Linked DNA regions of Homo sapiens: all the other regions are linked to region 1. The links are contacts of gene promoters, found by promoter capture Hi-C in blood cells and fetal thymus (Javierre and others, 2016). All regions are on one chromosome and are shown on one strand. The core of a region is centred on a gene start or on the middle of the fragment in contact, and the rest is flanking DNA. Distances in the headings are between cores, read along the strand shown.

Region 1 (2,700 bases), core at 198-2,697:
GAAACTGAAGATGGGAGAGAGCCTGAGGCTTATGTTGGGGATGAGGACGGAGAGGACAGGTGGGTTGGAGGAAGCAGATGAGAGTCCAAGGGGGACCTTCCATACCTTTTAGGAAATTGATCACTTTGCCCCATTTTCCGGCATCAAAGGGATGCAGCTTCTCCAGGCCCATGAAGGTGATGTTGTAGCGCGGCGAGTACACGATTGGCCAGCGTGTCTCTGGCACATGCTGGTACAGCTGGGTTGTGTGTAGCCTACCGTGTGGAAAAAGACAGACGCACAGCTGGGGCAGCCTCGGCAGAAAGCAGCTCCCTCCCGAGCCCGCCTGGACTGACCCACCAGCCATTGCCCAGCACCACTAGCCCCTCAGCCGCAGACAAGGGCCCCTCAACAACAGCTGCTTAAACTGGCTGCCTTTCCCGGAACCCAATTCCAATCCAGTCCTCACAGCAGCCCTGGGGGTAGGCACCACAATCGCACCAGAGGCTCAGAGAGCAGACCAGGTGTGCCCAAGGTCACAGTGCAGGTCTGTGGAGAAGCAGGCGTGCACTCAGGTGTGTCTGGCTGCAAGGCCTCCGCGCATCACCTCTGCACCGTAATAAATGCCCCCACAGCTGTGTGGCACAAGGCTTCGGCTGCAAAATGTGTGGCTGTTGTGAGGACTCAGAGAATGCAACTGAGGAGCTGAGCACAGTAAGCACTCAGAAACCCAAGTCGGGACCCAACCTGAGCCAGGGCGGGGGGCGGGGATCCCCTGACCCCGCTGCGCTGCTAACCCTTCCCATCACACCCTGGCAGTCGTCACCCAGAGACAGAAATCCGCCCCAGTGGCTGCCTCCGTGGGGGCGTCCGCGTAGCCAGGGGGCTGGGCAGCGCAGACGTCAGACCCGCGCACATCGCCCGACCGCTCCGGGTCCGGGCCCAGGCCCGCGGCCGGCGCGCGTCCCTCGGGCCACCGAGCAGGGGCGCGGGGCTGGCCTGGCGCGCCGGGAGGGCCTGGAAACACCCGTCCCGAGCGTCCCTCACCCCTCACCAGCAAATCTGGGCCCTTACCTGGCGCGCCCGCCCGGCCGTCCCCGCCCTCGCCCTAGCGCGCCCGCCCACCGGGACCCCTGGGAGCCCACCCCCGCCCTCGCCCCGCGGCACTCACATCCCGGGGCCGGCCCTCCCAAAGCTGGCCGCAGCTCCGCGACCGGGCGGGGCGGGGCGGGGCGCGGGTGGGGCCAGCCCAGGACACGCCCCCGGGCTTAGCCGCGTCCTCTGGGGGCAGAGCTCTGGCCGATTTGGCCCGCCCCGCCAGTGTTGCGACACAGAGAGCCTGCCCGCAGGAAGGCCACCCCCAACGCCCATCAAGCCCGAAGTCCCGCCTCCGCAGGCAAATACCCGGTGGAATCCCGCCTGGTTCGGAAGCTCCGCCCCCTGGCGGGAGGGCCAAGCGGGTTTCACCCCGGCCTCGCGGAAGGGGCGCGACCACCGTATGTCCTGTTCCTGCGCTTCCCAAGCTGGGTAGAAACGGCGAGAGGCTGGGGGTTAGAAACGACAGGTTCCCGGCGGGCTGTGCCGGGGCTTCGCTGTGTGACCTTGGGCTGGCGTCTGGGCTCTCTGGGCCCTTGTTTCCGCGAGTTAAACGTAGGGGCGGGGGAGTTTCTCTGGCCCTGCCGCCTGTGACCTAAGGAGCCCCGTGACCTCTCCGACCCGAGCCCACCCCCGGCCCAGTCTGCGAGCAGCTCCGGGACAAGCACTCCCGGCGAAGACATGTAGGCTCTCAGAGCCTGCGTTTCCCTCTGTAGAGCAGGCCTAGTTACTGTCTTCAGGGTGCACGCGTCTCCGTCCCCGACCCGCACCCTCACCGCCGGGGTAAGCTGAGCCAGGCCCAAGCGACAGCTGGGGTTGTCCGTGGGGCTGCAACCCAGGAGGAGGCCCCAACAATAGAGCCCCAGAGGACGGAGACAATGGGCCTCTCTGTCGGCCCAGCCGTCCCCGCCATCCAAACAGAAGCAGCTGACGGAGGACTGCCGGGCTGGGATCCCTGGGCTCCGCGGGGGCGGCTGTGTGCCAGGGCGGGGCACAAGGGAAGCGCACAGACGTTTGAAGAGGGGCCCCCGTGTGCCTGCCATGATTGCATGATGGCATCTGAGCCTCACAACCTAATCCTGAGAAAGGTGCCATAATCACCCCAACTTTATCTTGAGGGAACTGAGGTTCGGGCCTGGATTAAACCCAAACTCGGCCACCCGCCAGCATAGTGGCTTTGGGCAGGTTGCTTCAGCCTTCTGGTCCTTCATGTCTGCATCTGAAAATGAAGTACTGGGCCGGGTGCGGTGGCTCACGCCTGTAATCCCAGCACTTTGGGAGGCCGAGGCGGGTGAATCACCTGAGGTCAGGAGTTCGAGACCATCCTGACCAACATGGTGAAACCCCGTCTCTACTAAAAATACAAAAAATTAGCTGGGCGTGATGAAGGGCGCCTGTAATCCCAGCTACTCGGGAGGCTGGGGCAGGAGAATCGCTTGAACCGGGGAGGGGAGGTTGCGGTGAGGCCGCGCCATTGCAATCCAGCCTGGGCGACAAGAGTGAGACTCCATCTCAAAAAAAAAAAAAAGGAAGAAAATGAAGTTCTGGTTGCACTTCATTCTCTGGATTTCATGGGCAAGTCCAGGGAATCAAGAGACAATAATGTTGATTATTATTCAGAGACCA
Region 2 (2,700 bases), core at 53-2,552, 820 kb after region 1:
TTTCGGCTCACCGCAATCTCCGCCTCCTGGGTACAAGCAATTCTCCTGCCTTAGCCTCCCGAGTAGATGGGATGACAGGCATGCACCACCATGCCCAGCTAATTTGGTATTTTTATTTTTTTATATTTATTTATTTTTTCGAGACGGAGTCTCGCTCTGTCGCCCAGGCTGGAGTGTAATGGTGCGATCTGGGCTCACTGCAACCTCTGCCTCCCGGGTTCAAGCGATTCTCCTGTCTCAGCCTCCTGAGTAGCTGGGATTACAGGCGCCCGCCACCACGCCCGGCTAATTTTTGTATTTTTAGTAGAGACGGGGTTTCTCCATGTTGGTCAGGCTGGTCTCGAACTCCCGACCTCAGGTGATCCGCCTGCCTCGGCCTTCCAAAGTGCTGGGATTACAGGAGTAATCCCAAAAAAAGCGCCGGGCCCTTTTTTTGTTGTTTTTTAAATTCAGTAACTATCTAGTTCATTCTTGGATGGATGACAACCCAGATTGGATGTGTAGCAGCGTTCTCTTAACCAGTTTCCTATTAATCTTCATTTCATCCCCAGTGTTTCTCCAGAATGCAAATAATATGGCATTAAATATCTTCACACATAGCTTTTTGTGTATGTGTATACTTATTTCTCTAGAATTAGTGTCTAGAAGTGAAACTGCCGGGAGGAAGGATATATACTTTTAACATGTCCAAGTTCCACTGTGATAGCGCTGCGAGGGCACACAACAGGTTTCAATATACCTTGGACCAAACCGGATATTATCAGTTTTTTTAACTTGTTGCTAATGTGATGGGGGAAAAATGAACTCGGAATTTACACACAAGGAAAAGACCGTTTAAGGTTCAGGGACTGTCCACATAGCTGTCAAGTGGCGGAGCCGTGATTTGGTATTAAAGTGCCCGGAGAGGACGCGTCAAAGTTGGACACTGTGCCCTGTGTCCTGAGGCACGTCTGGTGATCGCTGGGCCTTGCAATGCTGGGCAGGCAGGCCTTCCTCTCCCCTTCTAGGCCTCTGGCCACTCCTGGCTGGCCGAAAGCCGGTTCTTCTCGATTACCGAGTGCCTCTCCTGAAAGCAAGTCAGCGTCGCCTAACCTCTTCAGCTTCGAAATGGCGGCCACCAGATCGCTAGGCCACGCCCCGGGGGCGGGGCCTGAGTTCAGGCCAGAGCGATGGATGCCCGAGCCAAGTTAGAAGTCGACTGCCAGTAGGGCTCGCGCAGAATCGGAGAGCCGGTGGCGTCGCAGGTCGGGAGGACGAGCACCGAGTCGAGGGCTCGCTCGTCTGGGCCGCCCGAGAGTCTTAATCGCGGGCGCTTGGGCCGCCATCTTAGATGGCGGGAGTAAGAGGAAAACGATTGTGAGGCGGGAACGGCTTTCTGCTGCCTTTTTTGGGCCCCGAAAAGGGTCAGCTGGCCGGGCTTTGGGGCGCGTGCCCTGAGGCGCGGAGCGCGTTTGCTACGATGCGGGGGCTGCTCGGGGCTCCGTCCCCTGGGCTGGGGACGCGCCGAATGTGACCGCCTCCCGCTCCCTCACCCGCCGCGGGGAGGAGGAGCGGGCGAGAAGCTGCCGCCGAACGACAGGACGTTGGGGCGGCCTGGCTCCCTCAGGTAGGTGGCAGGACCGGGTCGTGGATGCCGGGGGAGCCGGGCGGCGGGGCTGAGGGATCGGCTTCCAGGGCGACCGGGCCTGGGTGGCGCTGATGGAGCGGCCCCGCGGCTGCCGGGCAGAGGGCTTGGGCCAGGCCGTTGTCACCCTGGGGTAGCGTTGGGCGGGGGCCCCGGAGTCCGGTGTCATGGCCGGCGAGCCGAGTTCCCACATCCCACTCAAATTTCCTTGTGTTTGGCGGAAACGTGCCAACGCCACCCTTATGCCATGCGCATTCCTCATATTTGGCAGTGGGAAAATCCGCCCAGAGCTGCCCCATATCTGTTGTCACTTGGATGGGCCAATTCCTTTTCTCTTGGGCCGCCGAATGTGGGACCCGGGCTTGCACCCTTTCTCAGGGTACTTCAGTCAAGTGACACCCTTTTAGAGACGACGTGAGGAATCGGGTAAGAGAGGAGGAAACTGGCCAGTGCCCTACCACAAAGGCACAGGGGCCTCTTCTTGGGTATCAGGACTAGCCTTGGGTATCAGGACTCTGGGTTATTAATGAAAGGTTTGGGATACTTATAGAGGATTGGCCTCAGGACGCTTTGGAATGAAGAGCCAGGGCTGTCTTTTGTGTGACGCGAGAGCCGCCGGGACGCTTCAGCTCTGCAGCTGCTGAGGCTCTGCGAGCGAGTCGATGCCCAAGAGAGAGGGGTTTGGACGTCGTGAGAGGCGAGGCGGCCGTGTTCATTCATTGTTCTCGTTCTAGGGCTCTGGGTGTGCCCCTGGTATTCATTCTGTGGTGGGAAGAAGGAATGGAACTTAGTGTATCCTTGAGATGTGAACGGGTTCTAGGGGGTCACTTAATCTAAGTGGAAAATGAATTCAAGGCACGTTCATTGAGCGTTTCTGCTTGCCTGGTCCTCTGTGGGCTGAGTGGAGAGACTCTGCCCTCCCTGCGCTCCTAAGGCGTGAAAACAATGCAGTGTGATAAGAATTGGCTTATCAAGTGTTATGGGGATTTAGAACAGTTAGTTTTGCTTGGGGAGGAGTTGAGGAAGCTTCTACACTCGAGGAGACTTCTGAGTCGAGTTTTGAAACACCTGTGAGT
Region 3 (2,854 bases), core at 158-2,657, 640 kb after region 1:
ATCAAATGGGGCACAGTGTAGCTGCCTCTTAAAAAGTTGTGAGGAATGAGTTAGAACTGGATCTGAAGTCCTCAGGTAATAGGCATGGCTATGACTGGGTGACTTTAAGCATTGTTGCTTCTCAACTTGCTTTGTATCCTCAGCAGTCAAACCAGGTGCTCTTGGCTCCATTCAGACTCTTGGGTTCTGCTCTTGACCATTTTGCAAAGAGTTCTGAACCTTCATGGGCAAGGTCAAGCACCCTGTGACTGGGGGAGAACCTTTGAACCTGGAGTGTGGGCCTGGGTTCGCCCCGGATCCCTGTCCATTGCTTGCTGTGGGCCTTGGTTTCTTTATCTGTAAAATGGAGGTAATGCCTGGATTACAAGGCTGCTATAAGGATGAGAGGGGACAATGAGGGTACTTTTTAATGAAAGCATTCTTGTCACCACCAGGGAACCATAGTCAGGATTTGGGGGCATGTAGGTGTCATTCCACAGCCACTTACCAAGCAGCCCTCTCTTAGCTTGGTGCTGGGACTCATTGCCTCTCCAATGGAATTTTCCAAGTGTGTTGAGGGCTGTCTTGCTCCTTACCTACTTGATTCTCTTGCAGATCTTACTGTGCCGAGATCGCTCACAATGTTTCCTCCAAGAACCGCAAAGCCATCGTGGAAAGAGCTGCCCAACTGGCCATCAGAGTCACCAACCCCAATGCCAGGCTGCGCAGTGAAGAAAATGAGTAGGCAGCTCATGTGCACGTTTTCTGTTTAAATAAATGTAAAAACTGCCATCTGGCATCTTCCTTCCTTGATTTTAAGTCTTCAGCTTCTTGGCCAACTTAGTTTGCCACAGAGATTGTTCTTTTGCTTAAGCCCCTTTGGAATCTCCCATTTGGAGGGGATTTGTAAAGGACACTCAGTCCTTGAACAGGGGAATGTGGCCTCAAGTGCACAGACTAGCCTTAGTCATCTCCAGTTGAGGCTGGGTATGAGGGGTACAGACTTGGCCCTCACACCAGGTAGGTTCTGAGACACTTGAAGAAGCTTGTGGCTCCCAAGCCACAAGTAGTCATTCTTAGCCTTGCTTTTGTAAAGTTAGGTGACAAGTTATTCCATGTGATGCTTGTGAGAATTGAGAAAATATGCATGGAAATATCCAGATGAATTTCTTACACAGATTCTTACGGGATGCCTAAATTGCATCCTGTAACTTCTGTCCAAAAAGAACAGGATGATGTACAAATTGCTCTTCCAGGTAATCCACCACGGTTAACTGGAAAAGCACTTTCAGTCTCCTATAACCCTCCCACCAGCTGCTGCTTCAGGTATAATGTTACAGCAGTTTGCCAAGGCGGGGACCTAACTGGTGACAATTGAGCCTCTTGACTGGTACTCAGAATTTAGTGACACGTGGTCCTGATTTTTTTTGGAGACGGGGTCTTGCTCTCACCCAGGCTGGGAGTGCAGTGGCACACTGACTACAGCCTTGACCTCCCCAGGCTCAGGTGATCTTCCCACCTCAGCCTTCCAAGTAGCTGGGACTACAGATGCACACCTCCAAACCTGGGTAGTTTTTGAAGTTTTTTTGTAGAGGTGGTCTAGCCATGTTGCCTAGGCTCCCGAACTCCTGAGCTCAAGCAATCCTGCTTCAGCCTCCCAAAGTACTGGGATTACAGGCATCTTCTGTAGTATATAGGTCATGAGGGATATGGGATGTGGTACTTATGAGACAGAAATGCTTACAGGATGTTTTTCTGTAACCATCCTGGTCAACTTAGCAGAAATGCTGCGCTGGGTATAATAAAGCTTTTCTACTTCTAGTCTAGACAGGAATCTTACAGATTGTCTCCTGTTCAAAACCTAGTCATAAATATTTATAATGCAAACTGGTCATTTTTGGGATTTTGTTTTTGAGACTCATTCTGTCACCCCGGCTGGAGTGCAGTGGCTTGATCTTGGCTCCCTGCAACTTCTGCCTCCTGGGTTCAGGCGATTCGATTAACAATTGGAGACGAGTCGTGCAGAGGAAAGAAGTAACTTAGAATCTAATCTTTATTAACCTGGGATATCACAGAAAATACTTGGGCCTGCCACTTGTATTTCTTTGTCCTCAATACTGAACACTAGACACATTTGAAACCTTCCTCAGAAGGAAACAAACCAACTGGTTATGCCTGGGTGGTGGCATGGAAGATGCCCATTGTTGCCCAATTTGCTAATAAGTATTTTGAAATTAGAAATGAAACATGAGGTCCAAGCCTGTCCAGTTCCCTACCCAACCCATTCCTCCTCCCTGGAAAAAAGAAACCCGTATCATCTTCCAAATTTCTGATTCATCACTGCCACTTAAAAATGAACCGTTTTGAATTTTAAAATGTGAATAACTCAAGTATCTTTTCTTTTGAGATGCCCGGCCTGAGCACTAACTTCAGGCATTGCTGAATGCAGTGAAGAAACCAGAGTGGTGTCTGCTGCCTCCTGATCTTTTACAGCTGACAGCACAGCCTATTTCTAAATACTACTAGTTTGTGAGGCAGAGACACCCTCTGAAGGAACCAGACAGACTATGGAGGGGTACAGTGTGAAGTCACTGGAAAACTTCCTCACCCTATTTCTTTGGATGACTGTCCTGAGTTAAGGAAGGGGCCCAACTGTTGGCAGCCTCACAGCTTGGGCTGGGGGCCTTTGAGTTGGGTCCCTGGAGAAGGCACTGTAAGCCCTGACCAGGAGCGACAGGGCCCCCAGTGAGATGGTGGAAGGGCAAAAGTAGAGACCTGCGATGGTGGGATGGGGAGGCCTCGGACTTGGGTGGGCTCCTTTCTCTTAAGCGAGGGCCCACCTTGGTGCTGAGGGGACTAGCTGAGCTCCATTGAG
Region 4 (2,710 bases), core at 202-2,701, 510 kb after region 1:
GTGTCTCTGGGTGGAGAAAGGGTAGGGGGCTGGGTGGGCTTAGGGAGAAAGAAGCAACTTTCCATTAGATCTTCCCCCAAAAAGCCGCCAAAAGGGTGGTACCAACCTCAGGATAGGGCCCATTCCCTTCTCTGGGGCGCATCAGAGCCCCAGAACCACACGGTTCGGTCCAGGCAGGCAAAGGCCAGGTTTTATAAACTGAAGGCAAAATCGGGATAGGCAGATGTTGAGTAGGCATCAGCGGAGTAGGCTCTGGTTGGGGGTTTGGCGCTGTGCATTTGTTGTGGTTACACGCTGGAGAGGAAGACATGGCTCCCGGGAGGCGCCAGTGTTGGAGGGGCTGCGCAAAGTCCTCCTTCCAGAACAGAGGCTTCGCGCGCTGGGACCTGGATGCAGTGTCTGGGACTCCGCCCTTGCGCTCTGCACCCCGCGCCTCGGCTCGGCCCCGCCCCTGCGCGTAGCCCCGCCCCTGACGCCCCGCCCCTGACCCCCCGCCCCCTGTGCTTCTTCCGCGGCGCCGTGTGGCCACGCCTCCTGTGCTCTCTTCCCCACACGCTCCGTGCAGTCTCGCCCCCGCGCGCAGCCCCGCCCCCAGCTCGCCCTCCGGCCCCGCCCCCAGCTCGCCCTCCGGCCCCGCCCCCGCCCTGCCCCGCCCACTTCAGGGCCACATTCCTCCGGCCCGGCCTCGCGCTGCGCCAAGCGGGCGGCGGCGGAGGGGCGGGCTTGGCTGGCCTGGGGCTCGGACTTGGGGCCGGAGCCGCGGGAGCCGGCGGACGCTGGACCAGGAGCCCCGACGTGATCGCGTGGCGGGTGGTCGGGTCTCCGGGTGGCCGGGTGTCGGCCCCGGGATCCGGCGGCTCGCTGGCGGGAGTCGGCGGCCTCTGCTGGGCCTGGGTCCCGGCTCCCGGCCCGGCCCGCTCCCACTGCGGCCGCCATGTGGTGCCTGCACTGCAACTCGGAGAGGACCCAGTCCCTTCTGGAGCTAGAGCTTGACAGCGGGTGAGGGCGCGGCGCGGGGCGAGCGGCCTTCCCGGGTGCTGAGCGGTGGGCTGGCGCAGGCTGTGGGGATGCCTGTGCGGGAGTGCGGGTGACCGTCGGGACCGGGCGCCCGGCGTGCGAGAGAAAGCTGCCTGCGGGGCGGGGTGCGTCCGCCAGACTGTGGGTTTGGGTGAGAGAAGAGCAAACAGGACCCGAGTTTGTGCGTGGGAGAGAGAGACGCGCCCTTGGGACAGGAGCGCTGTGTGTGCCCTGGGAGGGTCTCAGGATGGGAGTGTGTGTGTGTGATCGAGGGCCTGTTGGAGTGCAAGTTGGTGTGGGGGTGAGTTTGAGTTTGGGGGCTTGAGAGGGAAACAGTGGGACTCGGTGTGGGTGTGAGGTGAGGGGCAGGAGGGAGAGCGGAGAGTTGGTGGGAGGGTGCCCAGCGGGTCTGTGCCTGTTTCCAACTGCAGGCAGGGCCGGAGCTGCCAGGAAGGCCTCTTGCAGGCCTGTCTATTCCAGACATTGGGCCTATGTCTGGATTGATGTGTCTGTCCTGTCTGCAAGACCCCAAGTGTGTGTGAGGGTGGATGACCCTGAACAAACAGGCGTCCCAGGTGTGTCAGCAGCTTCTGTCGGGTACTCTGCCCCTGGCAGGGCCACTTGGGGGTGCACTGGGGTGTGTGGCTGCTGTTTGTGGCAGAGTGTGGATGTGAGGGGCTTTGTGTGGTGATGCGTGTGCACCTGGTGTGGTCAGGGATGGAGTCTGGTGTGTCAGAGGGGCCAACCCTTTTCTACTTAGGGGCCTGTGGGCGGCTGTCTGAGCTTCCAAGGGCCCGTGTTTATGGAGAGAAAGGGAGAAAGGGAGTGTGTGTGTATGTGCTGGGAATATTGATTTCCTCTCTGCGATGGCCAGCACAGCTGCCCCCTGAGCTATCTGCAGGCCCTTCTGAGGAGCAGGGGGGTGGGGCTAAGGGGATTTGTTGACAAGCTGACTTGGCTTATGTCAGGCCCCCTCTGGAGGAAGCCCACCTGGAGCTGTTTGATCTTTCAGTTCAAAAATTGTGCAGCGCATGTCCAGCAGTTGCACTGAGAACATGCATATGTCTCCCTCTGCCCCTTCCTCACCCCAGAGGCCTGGAGCGCTGAGCCTGAGCCTCCAAGTGGGGTTGGGGGGCTTCTCAAGGACCCCATTGCTCCTTGCATCTGGGGTGGAGGCCAGGCATGCTGCAGCTGCAAGACCATCTGTCTGGAATCAGTGGCAGCAGTCTGGACATGGGGGTCATGTTATTCATATCCCACACACACCCGCGGCCCTCATAGTCCATCAGCTGTCCCACCTGGTATTACAATTGCTTCTTACCCTTGTGGTACCAGCATCCTCATATTGCAGGAGAGCAAATCGAGGCTGAGCATTCAGTCTTGTCAGTACTAAAGCTCTGTGGTTTATTGAGTGCCTGCTATGTACCAGTCCCTGCTCTAGGCACCAGAGACACAGCAGTGAACAAAACATGGAGTCTTTGTCCTCATGGAACCAGCAGTCTAGTGGGGAACAAGAAACCATTAGCGTGCTCTCCTGGCTGCACCTCCCGCCTCCCTCTGAGCTGAAAGTAACTGGGGAGGGGTTTCTGCCCCTCCATTAGGACCATTCCAGTTGACATGTCCAGGCCACCTCTCTTGCATACTTCTCAGTCCCACATCCCTTCTCATTAGAAGTCCCTCCGGGCATCTCATC
Region 5 (2,700 bases), core at 87-2,586, 670 kb after region 1:
CGGTGGCGGGCGCCTGTAGTCCCAGCTACTCAGGAGGCTGAGGCAGGAGAATGGCGTGAACCCGGGAAGCGGAGCTTGCAGTGAGCCGAGATTGCGCCACTGCAGTCCGCAGTCTGGCCTGGGCGACAGAGCGAGACTCCGTCTCAAAAAAAAAAAAAAAAAAAAAAAAATTAGCCGGGCACGGTGGCACACACCTGTAGTCCCAGCTATTCAGGAGGCTGAGGCAGGAGAATTGCTTGAACCTGGGAGGTGGAGGTTGCAGTGAGACAAGATAGCGTCACCGTACTCCAGCCTGGGGGACAGAGCGAGATTCTATCTCCAAAAAAAAAAAAAAAAAAAGATAAACAGCTTAGGCCGGGCATGGTGGCTCACACCTGTAATCCCAGCACTTTGGGAGGCCAAGGCAGATGGATCATCTGAGGTCAGGAGTTCGAGACCAGCTTGGCCAACATGGTGAAACTCCATCTCTACTAAAAATACAAAAATTAGCTGCACGTGGCAGTGCGCCCCTGTAATCCCAGCTACTTGGGAGGCTGAGGCAGAATTGCTTGAACCTGGGAGGTGGAGGTTACAGTGAGCAGAGATCGTGCCACTACACTCCAGCCTGGGAAACAGAGCAAGACACGAGACTCAGTCTCAAAAAGAAAAAAAAAAAAGAAGTTAAAAAAGCTTAGTCCAAGGTTGGGTGCAGTGGCTCACCCCTGTAATCCCAGCACTTTGGGAGGCCGAGGCGGGCAGATCATGGGATCACAAGGTCAGGGGTTCAAGACCAACCTGGCCAACCAACATAGTTAAACCCCGTCTCTACTAAAAATACAAAAATTAGCTGGGTATGGTAGCGTGCGCCTGTAGTGCCAGCTACTCAGGAGGCTGAGACAGGAGAATCACTTGAATCCGGGAGGCGGAGGTTGCGGTGAGCCGAGACTGCACCATTGCACTCCAGCCTGGGCAACAGAGCGAGACTCCGTCTCAAAAAAATAAATAAAAAAGCTTAGTCCAGGTTCTACACGAGCAGGCACTCGATAAATAGCATCTGTTATCAAAACCATTATTCATGTCCTGGCCTAATTTCCTTCACTAGGTTTAAGTCCTTGGATAGGAGAAAGGGAGGCAGGTACTGCCCTAATAGACCAGGCAAGAGGGGTTCCTGCCTGGTCTCCAGGCTTTAGAGCACTCCACTCAAGCCCTTCTCCAGCCATACCCTTCCCTACAGCATAAGAAGAGACATGCTGACCTAGAGACCCCCAACACTCCTAGACTCCATTCTGTCTGGGTATCTGGGGACCCGAGTTTCCTGCCCAATGGATCCTGACCCCTTGTCCGAGCCTGCGCAGGCCTCTTTCCTAGGTCCATGCAACCAAGGATGGCTGAGGGCTGGCTGCTGTTTGGGAGAAATGGGACAGGGTGTGGCCATGTCAGCTGGGGTTCCCCCCCCCACCCCCCGCCGTGTGCCTGCAAGGCCCCTTGCAGTGAGAGAGCCAGGGGTTGGGAGGGGCTGACCATATGCCAGTTCTATCCAAACTGTCTTGGTATAGTCAGAACTCCAAGGTGTCTGAGGATACATTCAAACCTGATTGCAGCTTTCCATTTCTAAAAAACTAATCTATAGTGACAGAAAGCAGATCAGTGGCTTCCTGGACAAGGCAGAGAGCTGGACTGCAAACGGACACAAGGAAGCTTTTGGGGGTGATGGAAAGGTTTCACGGATATACACAAAGGTCAAAACACACTGAATTGCACACTTTAAATAGTGCGGTTTATTGTATGCACATTAAATTGTTTCTTAAAAATTCAAACTTGGCTCATGGGCTGTTACTAAGATATCTTTGTCAAACTGGGAGAAGAGAACATAGTCTAACAGTTTAGTGGCATGACTTAAAATTGTAATTACCAGCCAGCCTCCACGTCTCATAAGTGATTGAACCAACCCCCTTCTCTGAACCGTCTGCACTCAGCAGGGGCTCAGGCCTGGGGGTTTGTCGAGCTCAGGGCCCGCCCTGCGCCTCTCAAGCCCTATCCGGCCCCAACCTCTGCGTTTCAGGGGCTTCAGCCGCCCGCCCCAGGCCCCACCCACCACATCAGCCCAGGCCCCGCCCCATCCTCCCTACCAAGGCAGACGGCCCACCCTTAGGCCCTGGCTGCACTGCGGCCCAAGCTCCGCCCCTTTACCGAGTCATTGGCTCACCCTAAGCTCCGCCCACCATGCCAGCCCAGGCCCCGCCCCCTGCCCCCTTACCGAGGCGGTGGCCGGCCTGGCGGCCGACGCTGCCCAAACATTGGATCAGGGTGCGGATGGCAGTCGGGCTGGTGGGCACCCGCGGGCCGGGCAGCCGGTCCAGTAGGTGGTCAGCGAGCTCGACGAAGAGGTCGGTGCTGCAGGCGGCCGCCAGGTGGCCAAGCGCTCCGACCGCCCGCTTGCGCACCGCCAGGCGCGGGCTGCTCAGCTGTGGCAGCAGACAGTGCAGGAGGCTGGCGTGGAAGGCGCCCAGCGGGACACCCAGCCTGGGGAGCACGAGGGGGCATCAGGCCGATCGCACTCCGCGGGCAACCTGGGCCAGGCTCCGCCCCTCTCCCCATTCTCTCCCGGCCTCCTTCCCAGGATTATGGCAACTCAATGGCCCTTGCAAAAGAGGTGCCCTGCAACTGTGAGGAGGAATTATTTTAATTACTTTTGTTACATGAGAGAAAGCGGAGAGAGAA
Region 6 (2,700 bases), core at 45-2,544, 600 kb after region 1:
GCGAGTGACCTGGGGGATCCGTGCCCAGGGCAAACCTCTGGGCTCTAGCTTAGCCCCACCTCCGAGGAACATTCACAGCCCTTCGGGAGGAGAGCCCTGCTGCAGGAAGACTCTAGGGGAGGGCCCAGCTGCGGGGTCCTGGGCTGTTGGTGACAGTACCCCAGGCTCCAAACTCTCTGTGCCCGGGGGGCAATTCCCTTCCCTGGTTGCAGCAGATTCCCACCCCGCCCTGCCCCACTGCCCGCCCCACGGGGAAGTGGCCCGGGAGTGGAGGCGTGGACAGGCATCCCGGTGTCTCGAGTCAGGCTGTCGGGCCAGCCTGGACAGCACGGCCCGCGGAGGGCAGACAGGGCGCACGGAGCAGGCCCCAGGCTCCAGAGCAGCCGCTGACAGGCTGTCCAGCTGCATCGGGTCTCCATGGAGACGGAAGCGGGGCCACAAGGTGGTGAGCGGCGGGGGGCGGGGCTTCCAACGGCCATCAGCCCCGCCCAGCCTGGGCAAAGAGAGCCCGGCCTGGGAGGCGGAGCCAGGGACCCCCGGGCTGAGCCTGATTTCTGAGGGCGGCCGGGGCCACCTCCCTCCAGACGCTGCTGCCCCCACGCGGACGGGCGCCCTCTGCGGGTCCCGTGGCTCCCGGCCCTGCTCAGCGCCTCCAGAGCCCTCACCCGGGCCCTCTCCGCTGGGTCCACAGGGTCCTCAAAGCGCTGGCCCAGACGCGGGGTCACTCTCCTGAGCCTCCCGACCTTCCCATGGGTCCTTTGGAGCCCTGGGTTTTGGAGTTTGTCTTTCCTAAGTGCCGCTCGCCCGGACGCGGCTGCTGCAGGACCACAGCCGACCGAGTGCGGCCGCGTCCCCTGCAGGCCACCCGTCAAGGGCACAGGGGAGAGGCGCCCCAAGCCACAGAGTCGCAGAGCTGCCAGGAGCTGACCCTTCGGGTGGGGAGAGGACACTAACTCGGGTCCTCTCCACTTCCTCAAGGTTCCTTCTCACCTGCAGTGAACGGCTCCCAGCACCTCTGGGGCCTTCCTGTTTCATTGATGTCAGCAACTGATCATTGATCATCTCTGGTGTGCAGGGACAGAGAAGACAGACCCGCTGGCCCCCCCGGGTGGGCGAGGGAGTCTAGTCTATCTGAAGAAAACTCCCATAGAGATAGGGGCTAGGAAGGAGACACCAGGAAAAGTGAAGGTGGAAGATGGGGGTGACCCTACTGCGGATGGGGTGCTCAGGGAGGGTTTCTTTGAGGGGGTGACATTCACTAGATTGACCAAGGGACGGTCAGGGCCTGTGAAAGTATTTTAAGAGAGGGAATGGCAGTGTCCAGTGGACTGTTTCAGGGATGGAAATAGGGCAGCAGGGTGAGGGGTGTGAGCCAGGCAGGCAGGGCCCAGACACCATGTGATGGGTACAGGGGTGGGACCCATGGAGGCTCTGAGAAAGGCCTGGGCCTCAGAAGACAGGGAAACAGGAAGACCCACTTCGAGGCCTCACAACCTTCTAGGGCACAGACGGTGAAAATGGCTCAGGCCAGAATTTGGTTTAGGTTTCAGAAGGGTGCTGGGTGCCTCATGCTCTTCTTGAGGCTAAAGGGCTCCAGCTCCTTGGACCCTTTCCATGCAGACATTGTTCTGGGGCCCCCACTACATGGACACCCTTCTGATGTTGTCTGCAGCCAGGCAGGGGTCGTGGGCCAACCCGCCCCTTCCTTGGCCAAGTGGACAGATGAAGGGAGCCTCTGGGGGCAGGATTGCTGGACTGGGAATTAGACTTGGAGTGTAATCAAAATGCCCCACAGGCCCCACCTCTTCTCTGGAGCTCGACTTCTTCAAGAAAACTGGAAACAAAGGGATGGCAAGACCAACTCTCAGGACCCTTGCCCTTCCATCCCATGATGCTTTTAGACAGTTCCCAGGGGCCACCTTTTTCAGGAAGAATTATCAGGATATAGGAAAGTAAAGGGAGGAAACGTGTTTTGAGTGGCACTTAGATCAGGCTCTAGACTGGGTGTTGGTTTGGTGGGGTTTGCTTTTTCTCCCGCCCCACACCCCTTCACAAAACCTGGGTCCTGGCTAGGCTGGGAGTGAGATTCCTGTGTCTAGATTTTCATCATTCCGTGTTGCACAGGAAGTCTAGGGAAAAGGAGACAGATATTAGCAAGTGTATAAAAGAAAATTTAGCCAGAGAAAACCTAGAAGAGGAATGAAGATGGGGGGATTATGAATGGCAAAGGACGAGCTGGGGGAGAGGGAGTTGGGCGTGGGGCTGGGACAAACAGAAAGGAGGTGGGGGAGGGGCCAGGGAAATAAAGTCCAAGAGGTCAGCAGGCACCAGAAGCCATAGCCTTAGTTGGGGCATCAGGAGAGCAGCAAGCTGCATCTACCTTGGAAAGATGGAGAGAAGACTGCAGTGAGCGGAGTGGGGAGGAAGGGGGAAGTGGCAGGGCAGAGGAAGCAGGGTACAGACAGGAGAAAAGAGATGGTGCCCTGGGCCAGGTGGCTGCCACCGCTACCATCGCCAGAAGTGGAAAACTCTTTGCCTTCTCCTTACCACTGTCACTATGACACCCCAATTCTTTCTGCTCCCCCTTCTTTAGTAATAGGTGCTGGCAAGTAAGGAGCAGTCTGATTTGAGTTTGCGAAGGAAACCCTTGGAGGTAGCTGTGAACCCATGAGGCTTGCCAAGTAGGGAGCTCAGGATCCC

Evidence for each region. The method cuts DNA at HindIII sites, captures the fragments that hold promoters and counts their contacts. A CHiCAGO score of 5 or more calls a contact.
Region 2: a contact is called between the fragment with the promoter of RAF1 here and the fragment with the promoter of HDAC11-AS1 in region 1, in 1 of 17 cell types (naive B cells). The highest score is 5.4, in naive B cells.
Region 3: a fragment that was not itself captured here is called in contact with the fragment with the promoter of HDAC11-AS1 in region 1 in 2 of 17 cell types (neutrophils and total B cells); the score reaches 7.2 in neutrophils.
Region 4: a contact is called between a fragment that was not itself captured here and the fragment with the promoter of HDAC11-AS1 in region 1, in 8 of 17 cell types (fetal thymus, total B cells, naive B cells and 5 more). The highest score is 6.8, in fetal thymus.
Region 5: a fragment that was not itself captured here is called in contact with the fragment with the promoter of HDAC11-AS1 in region 1 in 4 of 17 cell types (naive B cells, total B cells, fetal thymus and 1 more); the score reaches 8.0 in naive B cells.
Region 6: a fragment that was not itself captured here is called in contact with the fragment with the promoter of HDAC11-AS1 in region 1 in 3 of 17 cell types (naive B cells, total B cells and neutrophils); the score reaches 8.2 in naive B cells.

The regions. Positions count from the first base shown.
Region 1 is chr3:13,478,800-13,481,499 of GRCh38, reverse strand. It overlaps HDAC11-AS1 (HDAC11 antisense RNA 1), which reads left to right and starts at 1,447. Exons shown (of 2, transcript NR_046690.1): 1 at 1,447-1,857. It overlaps HDAC11 (histone deacetylase 11), which reads right to left and starts at 1,194. Exons shown (of 10, transcript NM_024827.4): 1 at 1,151-1,194; 2 at 106-254. The coding sequence starts at 1,152. RefSeq lists enhancers at 473-1,129, 1,779-1,838 and a silencer at 829-1,318. The HindIII fragment of the contact is 8,461 bases long and covers 1-2,700 here.
Region 2 is chr3:12,662,719-12,665,418 of GRCh38, reverse strand. RAF1 (Raf-1 proto-oncogene, serine/threonine kinase) reads left to right here and starts at 1,302. Exons shown (of 17, transcript NM_002880.4): 1 at 1,302-1,606. RefSeq lists enhancers at 927-996, 1,037-1,386, 998-1,609, 1,610-2,220 and a silencer at 1,577-1,796. The HindIII fragment of the contact is 11,087 bases long and covers 1-2,652 here.
Region 3 is chr3:12,833,964-12,836,817 of GRCh38, reverse strand. CAND2 (cullin associated and neddylation dissociated 2 (putative)) reads right to left here. Exons shown (of 15, transcript NM_001162499.2): 15 at 2,015-2,854. The coding sequence ends at 2,836. It overlaps RPL32 (ribosomal protein L32), which reads left to right. Exons shown (of 4, transcript NM_000994.4): 4 at 595-2,333. The coding sequence ends at 724. Among named protein-coding and RNA genes, the nearest start is that of SNORA7A, 5.1 kb to the left of the region's middle. The HindIII fragment of the contact is 762 bases long and covers 1,027-1,788 here.
Region 4 is chr3:12,965,676-12,968,385 of GRCh38, reverse strand. All of the region lies in intron 1 of IQSEC1 (IQ motif and Sec7 domain ArfGEF 1), which reads left to right. Among named protein-coding and RNA genes, the nearest start is that of LINC02022, 82 kb to the right of the region's middle. RefSeq lists an enhancer at 123-202 and silencers at 353-772, 883-932. The HindIII fragment of the contact is 2,939 bases long and covers 1-2,710 here.
Region 5 is chr3:12,809,861-12,812,560 of GRCh38, reverse strand. CAND2 (cullin associated and neddylation dissociated 2 (putative)) reads right to left here. Exons shown (of 15, transcript NM_001162499.2): 5 at 2,237-2,502. Among named protein-coding and RNA genes, the nearest start is that of CAND2, 15 kb to the right of the region's middle. RefSeq lists a silencer at 2,025-2,474. The HindIII fragment of the contact is 687 bases long and covers 993-1,679 here.
Region 6 is chr3:12,874,043-12,876,742 of GRCh38, reverse strand. It overlaps a transcript of LOC105376956 not described here. Among named protein-coding and RNA genes, the nearest start is that of LINC02022, 9.8 kb to the left of the region's middle. RefSeq lists enhancers at 1-65, 66-579 and a silencer at 473-712. The HindIII fragment of the contact is 2,860 bases long and covers 1-2,700 here.